2 separate regions of the Homo sapiens genome follow, and region 1 is linked to region 2. Evidence: promoter capture Hi-C in human tissues and cell types (Jung and others, 2019). All regions are on one chromosome and are shown on one strand. The core of a region is centred on a gene start or on the middle of the fragment in contact, and the rest is flanking DNA. Distances in the headings are between cores, read along the strand shown. Region 1 overlaps KIF11 (kinesin family member 11). Region 2 holds the start of CYP26A1 (cytochrome P450 family 26 subfamily A member 1).

The links. The method cuts DNA at HindIII sites, captures the fragments that hold promoters and counts their contacts. A contact is called where the count stands out against the background at its distance.
Region 1: a contact is called between a fragment that was not itself captured here and the fragment with the promoter of CYP26A1 in region 2, in 1 of the 25 tissues and cell types used here (dorsolateral prefrontal cortex).

The regions. Positions count from the first base shown.
Region 1 is chr10:92,604,572-92,609,083 of GRCh38, reverse strand. It overlaps KIF11 (kinesin family member 11), which reads right to left. Exons shown (of 22, transcript NM_004523.4): 2 at 2,687-2,819; 3 at 2,368-2,465; 4 at 1,847-1,925; 5 at 1-64. Among named protein-coding and RNA genes, the nearest start is that of KIF11, 14 kb to the right of the region's middle. The HindIII fragment of the contact is 7,011 bases long and covers 1-4,512 here.
Region 2 is chr10:93,072,627-93,076,641 of GRCh38, reverse strand. CYP26A1 (cytochrome P450 family 26 subfamily A member 1) reads right to left here and starts at 2,749. Exons shown (of 7, transcript NM_000783.4): 1 at 2,519-2,749; 2 at 2,110-2,334; 3 at 1,573-1,863; 4 at 1,335-1,493; 5 at 682-816; 6 at 1-98. The coding sequence starts at 2,707. The HindIII fragment of the contact is 10,778 bases long and covers 1-4,015 here.

The sequences.
Region 1 (4,512 bases), core at 17-2,516, 470 kb after region 2:
CATTATCAGTAAGTTTCTCAAAAATTTGATGAAGGGTACGTGGAATTATACCAGCCAAGGGATCCTGAAATTATAATAAGGACTAATATAAAGGAAGAATGCCATTTACTGTGGCAGTTAAAATACATGGGCCTCCTTTATAATATATTTAAACATAAGTATGGCAAAGCAAGTTAAAACAAAACAAAAAAAGAAACAACTAACCTAATGTTAGAGAAGTCATTTACAACAGTCTGTTCTACAGTAGTCTTCACACCCTCCATAAACCTGTCACACTTCTTAGCCATCTTCATCCCTGAGCATTACATAGAAACCAATGGAACCTATCTACTTAAAAAGCCAAGTTCGGCCAGGCACGGTGGCTCACGCCTATAATCCCAGCACTTTGGGAGGTCAAGGCAGGTGGATCACAAGGTCAGGAGATCAAGACCATCCCGGCCAACACGGTGAAACCCCATCTCTACTAAAAATACAAAAATTAGCCGGACTTGGTGGTATGTACCTGTAGTCCCAGCTACTCAGGAGGCTGAGGCAGGAGAATCACTTGAACCCGGGAGGTGGAGGTTGCAGTGAGCCAAGATCGAGCCACTGTACTCCAGCCTGGGCGACAGAGCGAGACTCCGTCTCAAAAAAAAAACGCCAAGTTCAATAATTCTGCCCAGCGAAACTATGCTTTAAGCCTATTCCATATCTCCTATGGTAACAATTTCATAACTTTATTATCTATATATGTAAAGTAAGTTAATGACTCAATTATGTAACCACTAGAAGAAAGGTTCTACCCAACTGTCAATAATTTGGAAAATTAGCTGGGCAAGGTAGTATGTGCCTCTAATCCCAGCTACTCAGGAGGCTGAAGTGGGAGGACTCCTGAAGCCCAAGAGTTCAAGACTGGCCTGGGGAACACAGTGGGACCCCATCACTTTAAAATTTAAAAAAAAAAAAAAAAATTAAAAAAAATTCTTTTTTTTTTTAAATTAACTAGTTTTTTGGTTTTTTGTTTTTTTGTTTTTTTTTGAGACAGAGTCTCGTTCTCAGGTAGCTGGGATTACACGTATGCACCACCACACCCAGCTAATTTTTGTATTTTTAGTAGAGACCGGGTTTCACCATGTTGGCCAGGCTGGTCTCGAACTGCTGACCTCAGGTGATCTGCCCGCCTCAGCCTCCCAAAGTGCTAGGATTACAGGCATGAGCCACCGTGCCCGACCAATTAACTAGTTATTAAACTCATTTAAATTTAAACACATTACTAAATTTAAAACTAAACTTTTTTTTAAAAGTTTTAACACTTCAGCTCTAGTTCAACTTGTCTTGGTCTTCTTTCAACTTTCTTCCAGTATTGGTTCTCTCTCTTAGTTATTAAACTCACTTAAATTCATGGAAATCTTTGTAAAACATAGTATATGCTTTCTGCAATATTAAACAATACATTCATCTTAATTTCTTGAACACTTAGGATCATCATGAATAAAGTACTATACTTCCCCTGGCCATGCTAACTTTCTGAGACCCATTCCTTCAATACAAAGCCCTCCCTGCCTTCAAGCTTCACTCATATTCCAACTTTTCTACAATATTCTGCTCCAACCATTCTGTCATAAATAGACTCCTCTTTTATCATATAACTGTGCCATATATATTGGTCCTTCCTCTTCCATTGAGGCTGTTTCTTAAACAGGAGTCATACCATGCACTTTAATTTTACTGTAGTAGTGGTTTATCCTAAGTTCATTTTGACATAGGTACTCTGATCTCTATTCCAAGACAGAGGCCCTCAAACAAGTTTTATACAGTTAAATTTCAGTCACATTAGAGATAAAAGTATGTTATAAACAATAAATACCTCTTCCCAGGTATACTCTTCATTAGGTGACCTTTCACCTTCCATTGTAAAAGTTTTTCCAGTGCCAGTTTGGCCATACCTGTAAAGATTAACAAGTGTTAAATCAAAAAGAAACATGCACCCATATGACTCTTAGTGATAGACTAGAAAAACAAAAAACAAGCCAGGCACAGTGGCTCAAGCCTATAATCCCAACACTTTGGGAGGCCGAGGTGGGCGGATCACCTGAGGTCCGGAGTTCGAGACCAGCCTGGCCAACACAGTGAAACCACGTCTCTACTAAAAATACAAAAATTAGCGGGCATGGTGGCAGGCAGCTGTAATCCCAGCTACTTGGGAGGCTGAAACAGGAGAATTGCTTGAACCCAGGAGGCAGAGGCTGCAGTGAGCCGAGATCGCGCCATTGCACTCCAGCCTGGGCAACAAGAGTGAAACTCCGTCTCAAAAAACAAACAAACAACAACAAAAAACACAAGCATTTAAGCTTTTTCATAAATCAGAAAAAACACCCTTTTACTTACGCAAAGATAGTGCAATTATAGCCCATAATAACTTCATCCAGAATTGGACAAACAACACTTCGGTAAACATCAATCTGTTTAGTAGATGCTCCAAACACCTAACGAAAAAAATTAAAAAAAAAAAAATCAACCTCAAAATTACTCATTTTAATAATTTTGTTTTTCGTATGTTAACTAATTCATAATTCAGCCCACTAGAAGCCATCTGACAATTCAGAGACAACTGAAATTTCTAAGTATACACCATTTTCCAGGTAAAATATGTATATTAAAATTATTTTACATTAGTGGATAATAAAGAAATTGCACCATATGTTACCATATCAAAAGTGTATGTTTTCCTTGAGCTCTTGTCAGCCAATCCTCCAGTTCGTACACTAACTTCTTTTCGTACAGGATCACATTCTACTATTGAATGGGCGCTAGCTTTCCGCTCTGCCAAATTAAATGGTCTATAAAAAGAAATACACAAAGTCATTCAAGAGCTCTTAGTTCTCAGGTTATCAATGACATTTTCACTAACTACATTTGTCAAGAAAAATGCGAAATTTTGACCACATTGTTGGTGATGGAGATTAAATCAGGACTAAGTGATATTGCTAAAGCAGACAGTAAAATTATAAGTGTCTCAAGTTTCACAAATATAATTTTTTAAATGTTCAAAGATATGTTAAGACATTACAATTCTGGCAGCTTCTTAGAGCAGATACGAATAGATTTGTTTTGTTTTGATGGTAGAGATGGGGTCTTGCTGTGTTGCACAGGCTGGTCTCAAACTTCCGGGCTCAAGTGATTATCCCACCTCAGCTTCCCAAGGTGCTAGTATTACAGAAGTGAGACACTGTGCCCAGCCACTAACAGGTTTTAACTTGTAAAAATGCCAAACTTATTTTTCAGAATTCCATTTCTCCTATTCTTAAAATCTGATCAAGGCTGGGCGCAGTGGCTCACGCCTGTAATCCCAGCACTTTGGGAGGCCGAGGCAGGCGGATCACCTGAGGTCGGGAGTTCGAGACCAGCCTGACCAACATGCAGAAACTCTGTCTCTATTAAAAATACAAAAGTAGCTGGGCATGGTGGTGCATGCCTGTAATCCCTGCTACTCGGGAGGCTGAGGCAGGAGAATTGCTTGAACCTGGGAGGTGGAGGTTGCGGTGAGCCAAGATCGCGCCATTGCACTCCAGCCTGGGCAACAAGAGCGAAACTCCGTCTCAAAAAAAAAAAAAAAAAAAAATCCGATCAAATTAGGTTATGATGTAGTAGAAAAAAACATGTCAAATTTGTGTTCAAAATACTAATCTGCCAGTAGATACCTGGCACAAAATAAAAAGTACATAAAAATAATGACTAATAAGTTGAGTACTTACTATGTGCCAGGTACTTATTGTTTCAAGTGCTTTGCATTGTGCTCACTCAGTTTGTCCACACAACACTGTGAGGTTGGTAATATTATTAGCCCCATTTTTAAATGAGTGAATAGACACAGAAGGTCTACACTGCCGACTGGATCAAGAGTCCTCATTCTACGGAAATGCCTGAGTAGGTATTTAGTTGAAATGATTATTTCCTCAGGAAGTCCTTTCTATCCTATGTGCCTCCCCCACCTGCTCCAACCAAGACCACATTAAATGTCTGCTATATATTCCTACAGCACCCTTTATACACCTTTTCTAAACATCACCTCTCTTATCTTTTTTTTTTAATGTGTTACCCACTAAACCTCAGATCACTACAGAAAGAAATACTGTCTAGTTTACTGTTTCCCCAGCAACAACTACCATGCTTAGCACACAGTAGGTTCTTAAATATCTGTTAAACTACATTGCCTAATAAATGTCATCCTAAGAGGAATTATGGGAAAACTAATATCACAGTCCACAGAGTAGCATCAATAAGACAATTATATACTCAATACATGTCTGGGCCAAAGGGAGAGACATAATCTTGACCTGAGTTCATTTTTCCCATTGAGTATCATATATTTTGGAGAAAGTGCCAAACAGGAAATTATTTCCCCCTTATCACTAGATAAACCAAGTTGCTACTTATTTAAGAAGGATACCTCAACTTCCCCTGGCACAGCCCACTCTAAGTATACTTCCAAGTGATCAGAAGACCAAATCTGTGATCCTAGGAAACTTAACT
Region 2 (4,015 bases), core at 1,500-3,999:
AGTCGAAGGGTCTCCTTAATAACACACCCGATGTATTTAAGTTGTTCCAAAATTTCCATGTCCAACTTGTTGTCTTGATTGCTCTTGCAAAGTAAACCCTATCAAAACAGTCATACAGAGGTGAACAGTTATTTTGTGCTCCAATAAAATCAGCCCAGCAGACGTAAACAGGGCTTAAGTGGAGACTAAACCCAAAGGGCCCCATGATGGGAGAGACTGGGAGGGGGAAACAGCAGCTAATGGCCATTTGCCTGCCCAAATCCACTATCTATTTACAATCCCAGGAGAATGCTGCTCACCAGTTAGAAGGACCAAGTTTCTCCCCACGCCCCCCCACCCCACACTCACCACCACCACCCACACTAATCAGCTATTCACACTATGTATGCCCTTGGACACACCAATTCAAGAAAGTGGAACCTATCTGAGAATCTCCACGGTTCAGCAAAAGGTGGAGGAGGGGTAGGAATACAAGGTCAAACCCTGCCCAAGTGGGCTCACAGCTCAAGACTCCATCCTGTTTATTCACAAAGCTAATTCTGCCCACTGGCCCACGCAGCCCTGGGCCCTGCACTTTCAAAATACTCCATGAAGGCAGCACACTGACTTATTCGGAAGTTGGCTAGGGAGCAGCTGAATTTCCTAAGCTAATAAGGACACCCCCAGACCCAGTCTCCCTACCTTACTCTTCAGCTCTTCTCGCACTTTCTGGAGAACATGTGGGTAGAGCCCCAGGTAAGTGATCAGAGATGTGGCTGCACTGGCCGTGGTTTCGTGTCCTCCAAAGAGGAGTTCGGTTGAAGATTGCTTTAGTGCCTAAGAATAGAGTGAGACCCACATTCTCACAAGTCTGCCTGCGGTTTGACAGAAGGATTACTCAGAATCGAACTGAGAGTTCTGGAGGGAAGACTAGAAGGGCTAAATGTTTTGCTGACAGAAAGTCAAGGAAAGCAATATCTTTAAACAAAATGCAACGTCCCTTTAGTTCAGCTGGAGCAGTAAGGCGAGTACGACCCCGCTCTACCGGAAACTCCTGAGTTAAAGTCTTAGTTTTATTAAAATCGCAAGGTTCTTTATTAACATTTTTGCAAATTCCAACTTTCCCTTTGAAACCTGGAAAGGCTAGGGGATGCTCCCAGTTCCGCCGCAGCCCCTTCCGCAGCTCTCCTGACCGGGTGTCTCAGCCTTCCTTCGGGATTCCATAGCTGTAGTCTGAGCCGGCCGCCCACTCCAGAAAGCTGGGCCCCAGGCGCGCGCTTTGGGGGCCCCAGGAACAGCGCTTGGAAAGCCAGGGGACCAAACTCCGCAGTGCCTGGTCTGAAGCTGCTACTCACCTGCATGTCCAGCCGCTCTCCCCTCTCCCACGAGTGCTCGATCAACAGCTGCAGCGCGTCTTTGCAGCCCTGGCCCGCCTCGGATGCCCGCAGCCCGCAGATCTTGGCGCGAATGTTCTGCTCGATGCGCGCGTGAATGAGGTTCCGCGCCTTCATGCCCTGAGCGCAGAGAGCGCGCGGCGGTGAGCAGACGCCCAGGTCCCGCGCCCCTAGTCCGCAGCCCGTTTGCCGCCCTTACCCGGTACAGCCCGCTGAAGGGCACGTCGATGGGCAGCGAGAAGAGATTGCGGGTCATTTCCTCGAAGGCCTCCACAAGCTGCTGCTCGGAGTCCCCGTCGCCCGCCAGTTGGGGTTCGCAGCCCAGTAGGATGCGCATGGCGATTCGGAACATGAGGCGCTTCACCTCGGGGTAGACCAGGAGGCCGCGCTCGCCGCAGCTCAGCCACTGCTCCAGGCTGCTGCCCACTTCCTCGGTGATCACCGGCACGTAGCATTCGAGTGCCTCGCGGCTGAAGGCCCGCATAATCACCTGAGTCCCGAGGAGGGGACAGCGTTAAAAGCCTCCATCCGCCCCTCTCGTCTACCGCCGTCCCCTTCCAGACACCCCCAGTCCTGCCAGACACATGGCACTCTCCGAGCTGGGAAAGCTAACCTGGAGCTGGCAGAGGGTCCTAGCCCACCTCAAGCTGCTAGCCCGCGCCTAGCATCCATCAGCCGGAATTCCGCTCATAAATGGGGTCCCCCTCCCTGTCCAGCCGTCGCCTCCTGCCCCCACCTTCTTGCGCTGCTTGTGCGAGGAGTCGTGCAGGTTAGAGAGGCAGCCAGATCCCAGAATGGTGCGCACCGACGCTGGCCAGTGGACCGACACCAGCCGGTGCTCTCCGAGCAAGATGCGCCGCACATTGTCCGCGCCCATCACCCGTACGGTGGGCCGCCCGAACAGATGCGTCTTGTAGATGAAGCCGTATTTCCTGCGCTTCATCTGCAGGAACTTCCTCCGCTGTGGGAGGAAGGCGGAGGAGAGAAGTGGGCATGAGGGGGCGCCGGGGAGCGCCGCGCTCCCGCCAGCCCTGCTCCTAGCCGCAATAGCATGCCTCCCGGGGGCGCCTACCCCGACTTCAGCAGAAGCCCAGAGCCGCGCCGGGCTCCGGGGAAGCAGCCTGTCCCGCCCCACCCTCCCTTACCTGCAGTACCATCTGCAAGGTTTCCCCAAAGAAGGGGAAGCCCATAGTCCCGGGGGGCAATGGGAGGGCACAACTGCGGTCGCGGCCGCTCACGCAGTACAGGTCCCAGAGCTTGATCGCAGCCAGGAAGAGCAGCAGCGGCAGCACGAAGGTGCAGAGCGCACTGGCCAGCAGCGCCGGGAGCCCCATGGCGCGCCGCGACCTCCCGCGCCACCTGCCGCCGCCGCCAGCGCTTCAAACCCCACGGCGCTGCCGCTTTATAGGCGGCCCAGGTTGCTGCCCACGTTACCTTGGTCAGACAATTAGTTCACCCAAAGTTCATCTTTAATTGCGGATTGGGCCCCTGGCTCCTCCCCCCGCGAGGCGCTGCCCAAAATCTTTAACCGTTTGTTCCGCGCCGAGGCAGAGGCGGCGCGGTGGCGGCTTCCCTCCGAGCGCGCCTCCTGGGGTGCGGGGCTAGGAGCTGCCCGCCTCCCCCATCCAAGGTGTGCTGAGCTCCGAGGCGGCGGTGGGGGAGGGCCAGGACTCCGAGGAGCCGGAATTCCAAGCTCTAGCCTTCCCGGCGGTCTCTTTGGAATCCCTCCCGCCCGGTCCCACCCGCTGCCCCGGCCCAAAGCAGCCTTCACTGGCTTTCCATTTCCAGGTGCCGGGTGGGCTCTCTTCCACGTGATGAGGAAGCAAGGGAAAGTCCTTTCAGGAATCGTCCAGCTGCCTCCTCCCACGTGTGGGGAAACTGAGGTCCAAGAGAGATGCATAAAGCAGGCCTCCAGACGTCTCCGAAGGATCGCGCAGAAGAACTCAGGGCCAGAGTCCAAGAGAGAGCCTCGGGGCATCGGGCGCAATAGGCAGATCTGGGATCCCCAGCTCCCCAACCCCTGCAAGGGGGCCAGGACTCATGAAGTCTTAGAAGGTCCTACTTCAGGATACAAGAAGGCCTCCAGGTCCCTCAGGTCCCCAGGTGCTACCCTGCACAAGCCTGATCCCCGACCCTGGGGCACTTCGTCTGGGGCTCGGCAGTCGGTGCCCGTCTCTGAGATCCAAGCACAGCTCGCCTATTCGGAGGGCCCTGCTGCTTGGCGCCCCAGCTGGACAGCAGGGAAGGGGGTCCTTAGCCCTGGCAGGATAAAGAGACGGTATAAGAGGAAGGGGAGCCCAGGAGTCCTGGCTCCGAGGCCCGGCTCCATCTGTACTGCGTGTGACCTTGGGCAAGTCACCACACATCACTGTGCCTGTTTCCTCCTCCTTAACCGGGAGGCGATCATTCCCGACCTGTCTAAGCCTCAGGGTAGTGAGTTCCCAAAAGGGGGCTCCGGTTGCAACTACTCTTCCCAGCTCCAGGCACGGTAGACTGCGTTACCTGGGTGTCCGGTACACCGGGCACTGGAGTCCTCCTCCTCTCTCCCAAGTCCCACCCAGAGTAAAGCCACTGTCCTCATCCAGGTGAGGGGGTGCTCGGCCCTAAACTCAGGGCTCTACCGACCCCTAATGGGAGGGGTG